Linked DNA regions of Homo sapiens: regions 1 and 3 are each linked to region 2. Evidence: promoter capture Hi-C in 16 types of primary human blood cells and fetal thymus (Javierre and others, 2016). All regions are on one chromosome and are shown on one strand. Each heading gives the region's core, a stretch centred on a gene start or on the middle of the fragment in contact. The rest is flanking DNA. Distances are from core to core; before and after follow the strand shown. Region 1 overlaps PDHX (pyruvate dehydrogenase complex component X). Region 2 holds the start of SLC1A2 (solute carrier family 1 member 2). Region 3 overlaps PDHX (pyruvate dehydrogenase complex component X).

Region 1 (2,700 bases), core at 195-2,694, 440 kb after region 2:
CTGATTATACTAGAACAGTGATACATGTAGGTACTTTATATATAAACAGTTATATATACACATATGGGAAAGTGTTCGAAAATTTCTTTTTACTAATGGGGTGTAGGTGAAAAAAAATTTAACTGCTTTTTAACTTAACAAAACAGGATATAACAAAAGCCAAAGATGAAGCAATGCTGGCATAGGTCCTAGTGTGATTAATAAAATGAGGTTCTCCATCCATAGTTTTATGGTGAATGCATTTGAATCAATTTCTTTCCAGTATACATAATGATTTTAAGATAAAGCTGGGGTCCTCCCACTTCCTACGAGCTGATCATAACTAAAGTATTTGTTTATGTCTTTGCATTTGCCACTGGGTATAACAGTGTTAGAAAATGTAAACAACACTTGATTCTTTCTTGCAAGAGCTTATAGAAAAAGACTCTAAGATCTAGATCTAGTCAGTGGTATGTGGCAAAAAACCTATCCTATTACTAAAGTATCACGGAATTTTAGGTGAATAACAGCTCATTCCAAAGGCATCCTGGAGACTACAGAAAGGGATTAGATGAATTACCATAAACCTAAATACTGTCAAACTGTCACGATAACTGTCAGCTGCAAAGTATCAAAGCTCCTCTAATTCAGAATTCCAGAAATATATAAACATTTTTGCTTAAAACCCCTTTAGGAATAGAAATATAAATGGACTTACAGTGCTTACAAGCTTTTAATGATAACCACATAGAAAGATTTGGTTTGTACAAATTCAAATGTAACAGTTCATGAACTTACTCTGCTTACCTTTCATGGCTCTCTCAGCTTTCTCTTCACTTTATCTACTTACCCACAGGTATTCACAGTGAAGACTTCTAAAACCATCTGCCAGCTAATGACCCCCAAACCTACCACCTAAGTCCACAGTCCTCACTTAAAATTCTGTATTCAGCATACTCCCACATTTAGGAACATTCTTGAGTTGAATGAAATATATTCTTTTACTGGCTCCTATGTCACTATACTCTCCTGGTTTTCTTCCACTTTCTGCCCACTCACTCATTTTTATTCCTTTCCTCTCAATGTTGGCATCTCCCCAGGCTAGAAGTTCCAGTTCCAATTCCAAGGTTTTGATACCATTTATATAATGATGACTCTTCCAAATTCTACCTCTAATTCTGAGATACTGAGGCTTCAGACTTGTATATCCAACTTCTCACATGAAATTTCTACTTGCATCGCTTACAAGCATCTCAAATCTAACATGTGTAAAGTAGGTTTCTCTTTGAATTCCTTTATTTTTAACTCTTTATAATGGAGATTTTCCAAACATATTGAAAGGAGATGCTGTTACATTTACTGAGTAGAAAACAGTTTGTAAGGTAATATCAAACATTCTCATTTACACATTGTCAAGACAGAAAAGCAAAGTGTGAAGCATGCATACAGAATGTTATGTATTGTAACTTTATATGAGAAAGAGGAGTGAAGATAGATAATGTGGGGTGTAAAGATTTTTAAGAAAATTCCTAATTACCAAGGTGTACCAAAACTGGACCATGCAAAGATAATAAACTAATCCATATCTCCTCTGAAATATTACTGTTTTCTGCCTTATTAGAGTAAGAAAACAGGAAAGTGATTCCCATATTAACCTCTATATCATGACTAAGCAAGTATGATCTGAGAACTACAGGAGTGTTTCCAGGGTTCATTTTTTAGAAACTTCTCACTTTCTTTAAAATAGCTTTCCATTTAGTTCCTTGAACTTTTAAAAGCTCTCAAGTTGTCTTTATATGAAATCTTGAAACTCTGTATATAAACTGATAAAAGTCCTGCTTTCACCTGGGATGTAGAAAGTTGCAAAAGAAAGCTGTTCCCATCCTGACAGGGTGAAAGAAAAAGCAGGATAAATTACAAAATCGTAACTTTTCTTGAGCTCATTAGGGAGCGGAGGTTACAAAGCAAACAGGTGAACTGAATGCCAAAGAGTGATAATCCACTCAGAGGAGAGACAAACACAGGAAGTAAATACCCACTGTCAGAGTACAGGAGTAAAGAGGGCAGAGTATGGTACAACATGCATAAACAGATGGCGACTAGCAGCAGAGAAATGGAAACTAAAAAAACATTCAATTGGAAATCCAGAGGGGAAAATCCATGCTAACCAAGATAAAAAATATATATTTTGCTAAGCTTTGCAGACACAGCTAAGAAATCAGTGAACTTGAAGCTAGGTAAACAAAAATTATCCAATATGAAACATAAAGAGAAAAAAGAATGAACAAAAAAAATAGAGCATTTAAGAGCTTTGGGCAATTCAAAAAGTCTAACATTTAAAATTGGAGCCCCAAAGAGAAACCACATGGAACAGAAGATATCATTAAAAATAACTGGAAATTTTTCACAATTAAAGGAAGACAACAAACCATACATCTAAGAAGCTGAGAGAAACCCAAACAGTAAATACAATAGAAAAAAAAATCTAGGCATACAATAGCCAAATTGGTAATGCAAAAATCTTGAAAGCAACCAGACAGGTGGAAAACATCATATACAATGGAACAAATATTAAGAACGGCAGCAGACATTCTAAGACAGAAAATAAAGAAATAGTATCTTTATTTAAAGAACTGAAACAAAACCCCTATTAACTGAAAAATCTATATCCAGCAAAAATAATTCTTAAAAATGATAAAGATATATCCATTAGGGTGACTA
Region 2 (2,984 bases), core at 344-2,843:
GAATAAGGTACAGACATGATTATTCTAATGGTGCAGACAGGATTGAGAGAGAAGGGGGGAGGGGAGAGATGGAGAAAGGCATGGATGGAAGATGACGTTTGGATTCAGATTTTGGAAAGGAGAGTAAAGGAAGGAGGTAAGCAGAGATTTATTTTTTAAATTTTATTAATGTGTTTTCCCCTCTTTTTCTTGTTATTTTTCTCATCTGTCTGTTCATACTTGGATATTTTGTCCAATAAACTATCTTCTAAGGACTCTGAAAATGCACTGAATATTTTTGGAGGGTTTACTGGGTGCCAGACGCCACTTTAGGAGTTTTACATATCCTCTCCATTTCATTTAGTTCTCTTAGCACAGAGAAGTGGGAGAAGATAGTCCCATTTTACAGGTGGGATGAAGAGAGAGATGGAGGAATTTGCCCCAGGTTACTCAGCTAGAAGGTGGTGAAGAACTCAAGCCTTCGGATATCAGCGCCTGGCATTTAACTACCAATCGGTCCTGCTGGGACTCCGGCTCCTCTGGCACCATCCCCGGGACCTACTCAGAGAGTTTGCACGTGGCCGGTCGCGTTCCATCGTCTAACAAGGTCCAGCACAGCGCAAATCCGAAGATCGTCTACCCCGGGGAAAAAGAGAGTCTGTTTAATTCTCCTGTGGCCCTCCAAGTGAGTTCTTTTGGGTTCCATTGCCTAGACGAGGAAAGTGAGGCTTTGCCTGCTCTGCGCTCACAGGGTCGGCAAGTAGTGGGACCCTAGGTTCCTGCAGTATTCCAGAGATAATCAAAGCTGCACAGGTCTCGTCATTTTTATGCAAAGGCGTCCGGAAGGCTCGAACTCTCCCTTGCACAAGCCCATCTGTCTCTGTGCGCCGCCCCCGGGACACGGAAGCAGGCGGCGAGCAGCGCCGAGTGGGTGGAGAACCGTCCCCCGCCACTCACCCCTCGGCCAACTCTCCGCGCCTTCTCAGCCGGCACCCACGAGGCCGACCTCTCTCGGCCTAAAAAAAAAAAAAAAAAATCCCGGCCTCCCCTGCACCCCGCCCGCCGCCCCCAGGGAGCTGCATTAATATTAATCTCGCTGAATAATTGAAGGCCAGAGATTTATTCGAGCTTCGGCGGGGGAGGGAGCGCAGCTGGGCCGCGTTTAGGCTGCACCACCCGCGTGTTTCAGCCGCTCGACTCCGCTGGACCTGGGACCCCCAGACGTGGGAGGATGGGGTGGGTGTGCCTGCCTGTGAGTTTGGGGGTGAGTGTGAGCTGAAGCGGGTGCTCCGGGGAGTGAGGAGGGAGCGCCAGGGGCTGCTCCAGGGAGGCGGAGACGGAGGGGCATCCCGGGTCTCCGCGCGGTCGCCTGCGCTTCACCCCGCACGGGGTGACCTGGGGCCACGCGGGCTTCAGGGGAAACAATAGCTACTCCTTAGATCCTGGGCTCCTGCCACCGGCTGCCCAAGCCTTCCCGGACGAGCGGCGGGGCCTCTTTTCTTATTTGGCTAATTTATGGCGAGAGGCTGGGGGGAGGGATGGCAGAGGAGGGACCGCGACTGGAGATGGGGGCGGGGGGCGGCGGTTAAAGGAGTTGCCCGAGGCGGCGGCGCGGGTGATGTCAGCTCTCGACGAAAATAGAGAGGGATCGCCTGCAAATCCCCAGCTCCGGCGGGGCTAAACCTTGCAATCCCTCCCTGGCCGGCGCCGAGCCAGAGCGCAGCGGCCTCCACCGCCTCCCCAGGCGCGCACACACCCGCACACGCGCACGCACGCTCACCGTCCTCTGCCACCACTCTCTGCTCCCGCCACTCGCCGCGCCCGCGAGCCCCGCAGCAAAGCACAGGTGGCAGCGGCTGCAGGGGCGCATCGCCGGCGTGCGCCCTCCTGCAGCCCTGGGCGCATCGCTCTCTCGGGGAAGCCACCCTCGGAGCCCCCGGAGCTCCCCGCCAAGCGCCATCCCCGCGGGCGGAGGGGAGCGCGGGTCGCGCGCCGTGGAGAGCCGGGACGCGGATTAGCGCCCGCAGGAGCCTCCTGCGCCCGTTGAGGCGCTAAAGGGCTTACCCCGGAGGCGGGTGGAAGGGCGGGCAGAGGCTCCTCTTAAATACCGCTCCCGGCCGCACTTCGCGCTCACCCCGGCGTCCGCTTTCTCCCTCGCCCACAGCTGCCGGATAGTGCTGAAGAGGAGGGGGCGTTCCCCAGACCATGGCATCTACGGAAGGGTGAGGGGATTTTTATCTGTACCCGCGGGAAAGCGGGGTCACGCGCGGGGTGGTGGCGCCCCTATCCGGGATGCGGATAGAGAGGCGGCGGCGGCGGGCCTCGGAGGTGGTGGCGGAGCCGTAGCTTGGCTGGGGATGGGATGGTGGGGAGGGGATTGATTTTCTTTCCTGGAGATTGCTGCTTAATCCTTTGAAAATGCGAGAGGTGGAGGGTTGTTTTATTTTGATAAAAAGGGTAAGGTGCGCTGGGGGCCTGAGAGTGTGAGGAAGAAATCCTCTTGAGGTTACTTTTGGGATTTCAAAACAATAGGGGATTGGGCATAGTGTGAGCAGACACCGGGGTAGCAGCGCCTGGAGCGCGGCGCCCCAGGCCCGAGGCGGGCTTGCAGGTGGTGCCGGCTCGGAAGGAATGAGCCAAGACAGGGCCCTGGGGCGGGGCAAGGACCAGCGCGCGCGGCCTTGAACGCCAGGTTTGCAGAGTCGCCATGGAGATGCTGGGCCCGCTCCGATCGGTCCTTGTCCCTGGAAGGCGGAATCTCCCTGGCTAGCTCTAAGGAAGGGTGGAAGAGATTTGGGTGCTTCCCGGGAGGCGGGAAAACGTGTGGTTTGGGACAAGGGCAGGAGTCGCCAGACTCCAGCGGGCAGGGATAGCATTGGCTTCCCTATTCAGCCCGAGGATCTGGAGTCGTGTCCTGCCTCCCAAGATTCCAGCTGGCATGGGGAAAGCTCCCTCGCAGTGATAACTAAAGACAATTGTCTTTAGCAAGAGACAGAAGGGGCTGC
Region 3 (3,049 bases), core at 114-2,613, 420 kb after region 2:
GCAGTGATCTGTGATCCCAGCACTGCACTACAGCCTGGGCCACAGAGCAAGACCCCATCTCAAGAAAAAGTAGTAATAATAATAATAATTTCGATTAAAACTGACCTTGGAAATAATGTAACATAAAAATTATTTTGAAAATAGCCTTTGGTTATAATTTTCAGTGTAACTGTTAATATGACAAAAGTTTTGAAGACTATTTTTTTTAAATGGCTTGTTAAACTGAGTTGGATAGTTGGATTAAGCATTTTCTTAACAATTAATACACCAGGGTGCTAATTATTTTAGAAGGCTCTTCTGTTAGGGTTTATAATTCATCATGTCATACCATACAACTTGTACTATATTAGCCTTTCTTCTATTGATTCATGTCAGCTGACACTAACATAAACCTTTTTGTGACAAGTTAATTAAATTACCATTCATTACCATCCAACTTAAATATAGTTATCTTGACAGTTATAGCAGAGCTGCCAAAAGAGAGAAACAAACTCTTCTAAACTTTATAATAATTAGTGAAAATTTCATATTAGTGAAATAAAAAGGATAGTTCTCATCTGTTTGGCTTCATAAGTCTTCTATTCTCTTTCCAAAGTTTTACATTTCCTATCAGTTACTTTCCTAATGTCATACTAATTTTAAATTCCGTCTTTTCTCCTGTAGAGCCCTTTTAAAGGTGTTCTAGAAAAACTACTAATCAACTTCAAGGTTTATTGAACTTTTGTGTTTTAACATTTAAAATACAATAGAAATGTTTATATTTTCTCACATTTTACTGCACAATACAAAACTGATTTAAATGCATTAAGAAACAACATTTTGTTTTTAAATAAACACTAACAAAATGTTTGGCAAGAGATAACACAATTTATTTAAATATATTCCGACTCAAGATGAAGGCAAGCGGTTTACCTAGAAAGGTTTACATATTTTAGCTATAGTTTTTCATTGAACCATTTTTTTGAAATGTCATTCTTTTCATTCATGCTTCTTTTATCCTCTTGCTTTAGAAGTTCACAGTGTTATATAAGTGAAAAACAAGACAGATAGAAACCACCCTAAACATATGGCTTTATGTACATAAAAAATTCAATAATGTTGCCATAACCCCTAATACAGTGTGATCCTTATTTATTTATTATCCAGAATAAACTTCTGTACCTATTAAATTCTTCAAGTATATCTAGAGCAGTGCTTGTAAAAGTGAGGTCCCACTGCTAAGTTAATGGCCATCTCTTTGAAGATCACTTCTACCTTCAACATAATTATGGTACAGTTCTAATAGTTTTTTTAATTTTACATGTATCATACATTCTCAAATATTCCAAAATGCTCAAATGAGCCAAACATATACTTTGATTTACATCTAGTTTAATATTCCCTTTATACAGCACCAGAGGTTAAAAATGGATCTGAGTAACCAAATATTCTCTTTCCTTTATTAGTTAGAGTTTATCATCATTTATTTCTATAACATTAAACCCAAATTGAAGATGAAGACACCCTGGGTCAAATGCTTTCACCTTAAATAAATAAACATTTCATCCACTTCATACTTAAATACCAAGTTGTTTTCCTATAACATATGTTTCTTGGTAACAACTACTGAATCAACTAAGCTGAACACCAACTTCTTATCTTTGAGGACTAGGCAAGTCGGATAGGATTCTCTAGGTTTGCTTTAAAACTTTTAAGAAACCTGGTTGCCAGTTCGTCATCAACCACTCGACTGTCACTTGACATTGTGACTGTTATGAGCTGGCGCTGCTGCAGTTTGGCATTTCCCTCTTCATCCTCAGTGAGCTTCAGCACAGGTCGGAACCTCCCAACCGCCAAAATGCAGGCCTGAGGAGGGTTAATCACTGCAGTAAATTCGTCGATGCCAAACATCCCCAAGTTGGAAATACTAGGGGGAAAAGAAAAAGCTCTGAAGGAGGCATGTCCTTAATCAAAGTCCCCTTTCCGTGAAGCACATATTTTATATATTTTACTAGGCAGTGTAGTAAGGCAAGAAAAAAATATATGAGTAATGAAAAAAGGAAACATTTAGTATTTACAAATAAATTAATTGTGTACACAGGAAAAATGAGACTATAGATAACTAGTAAAATTAATAAGTAAATTTAGTTAAGTCATCAGATAAAAGGTCAATATAACAATCCATTTTATATCGAGTCATGTCCCACATAACGAAGGATCACATATACAACGGTGGTCTTATAAGATTATAATGGAGCTCAGGAATTTCTGCTGCCTAGTGGCATCATAGCTGTCATAACATCATATTGCAATTACTTTATTTTAAAAATAAATTTAGTGTAGCCTAAGTGTGCAGTGTTTATAAAGTCTACAGTAGTGTATAGTGATGTCCTAAGCATTCACTCATTCACTGATTCTTCCAGAGCAACTTCTAGTCTTGCAAGCTCCATTCACGGTAAGTGCCCTAAACAGGTGTACCATGTTTTACTTTTTACATTTTTACTGTACATTTTAAAAATGCTTAGATATGTTTAGATACCCAAATACTCATCATTGTGTCACAACTGCTTACGGTATTCAGTAGAGTAACATGCTGTATAGGTTTGCAGTCTAGGAGCAACTGGCTATATCATACAGCTAAGGTGTGTAGCAGCATGTACCATTTAGGTTTGTGTAAGTACACTCTATGATGTTTGCATGATTTGCGTAAGTACACTCTATGATGTTTGCATGATGAAACTGCCTAACAATGCATTTCTCATATCCCCATCATAAAGTGGCACATGACTCTACATACAAGTTGCTATAATTAGAAAATAAAAATTTAAAACAATACCATTTATAATAGTATCAAAAAACAAATACCAAAGAATAAATCTAATGAAACATATACAAGACCTCTACACAGAAAATTATAAAACATAACTGAAAGAAATCAAATAACTGAATACACAATGGTTTCTACCATATTCACAGGTTAGAATACTCAATACTGTAAGGATGTCAATTCTCAAATCATCAAAAGACTTAATGCAATCCCAATCAAGAAACCAGCAAGGGGTGTGTGTGT

The links. The method cuts DNA at HindIII sites, captures the fragments that hold promoters and counts their contacts. A CHiCAGO score of 5 or more calls a contact.
Region 1: a fragment that was not itself captured here is called in contact with the fragment with the promoter of SLC1A2 in region 2 in 4 of 17 cell types (naive CD4 T cells, M2 macrophages, M1 macrophages and 1 more); the score reaches 6.1 in naive CD4 T cells.
Region 3: a contact is called between a fragment that was not itself captured here and the fragment with the promoter of SLC1A2 in region 2, in 2 of 17 cell types (M2 macrophages and M0 macrophages). The highest score is 6.6, in M2 macrophages.

Annotation. Positions count from the first base shown.
Region 1 is chr11:34,974,987-34,977,686 of GRCh38, reverse strand. All of the region lies in intron 7 of PDHX (pyruvate dehydrogenase complex component X), which reads right to left. Among named protein-coding and RNA genes, the nearest start is that of MIR1343, 34 kb to the right of the region's middle. The HindIII fragment of the contact is 1,466 bases long and covers 712-2,177 here.
Region 2 is chr11:35,418,167-35,421,150 of GRCh38, reverse strand. SLC1A2 (solute carrier family 1 member 2) reads left to right here and starts at 1,593. Exons shown (of 11, transcript NM_004171.4): 1 at 1,593-2,201. The coding sequence starts at 2,185. It overlaps SLC1A2-AS2 (SLC1A2 antisense RNA 2), which reads right to left and starts at 2,094. Exons shown (of 2, transcript NR_186310.1): 1 at 2,044-2,094; 2 at 149-615. RefSeq lists an enhancer at 1,447-1,947. The HindIII fragment of the contact is 13,046 bases long and covers 1-2,984 here.
Region 3 is chr11:34,993,771-34,996,819 of GRCh38, reverse strand. It overlaps PDHX (pyruvate dehydrogenase complex component X), which reads right to left. Exons shown (of 11, transcript NM_003477.3): 11 at 692-1,906. The coding sequence ends at 1,648. Among named protein-coding and RNA genes, the nearest start is that of MIR1343, 53 kb to the right of the region's middle. The HindIII fragment of the contact is 5,121 bases long and covers 1-3,049 here.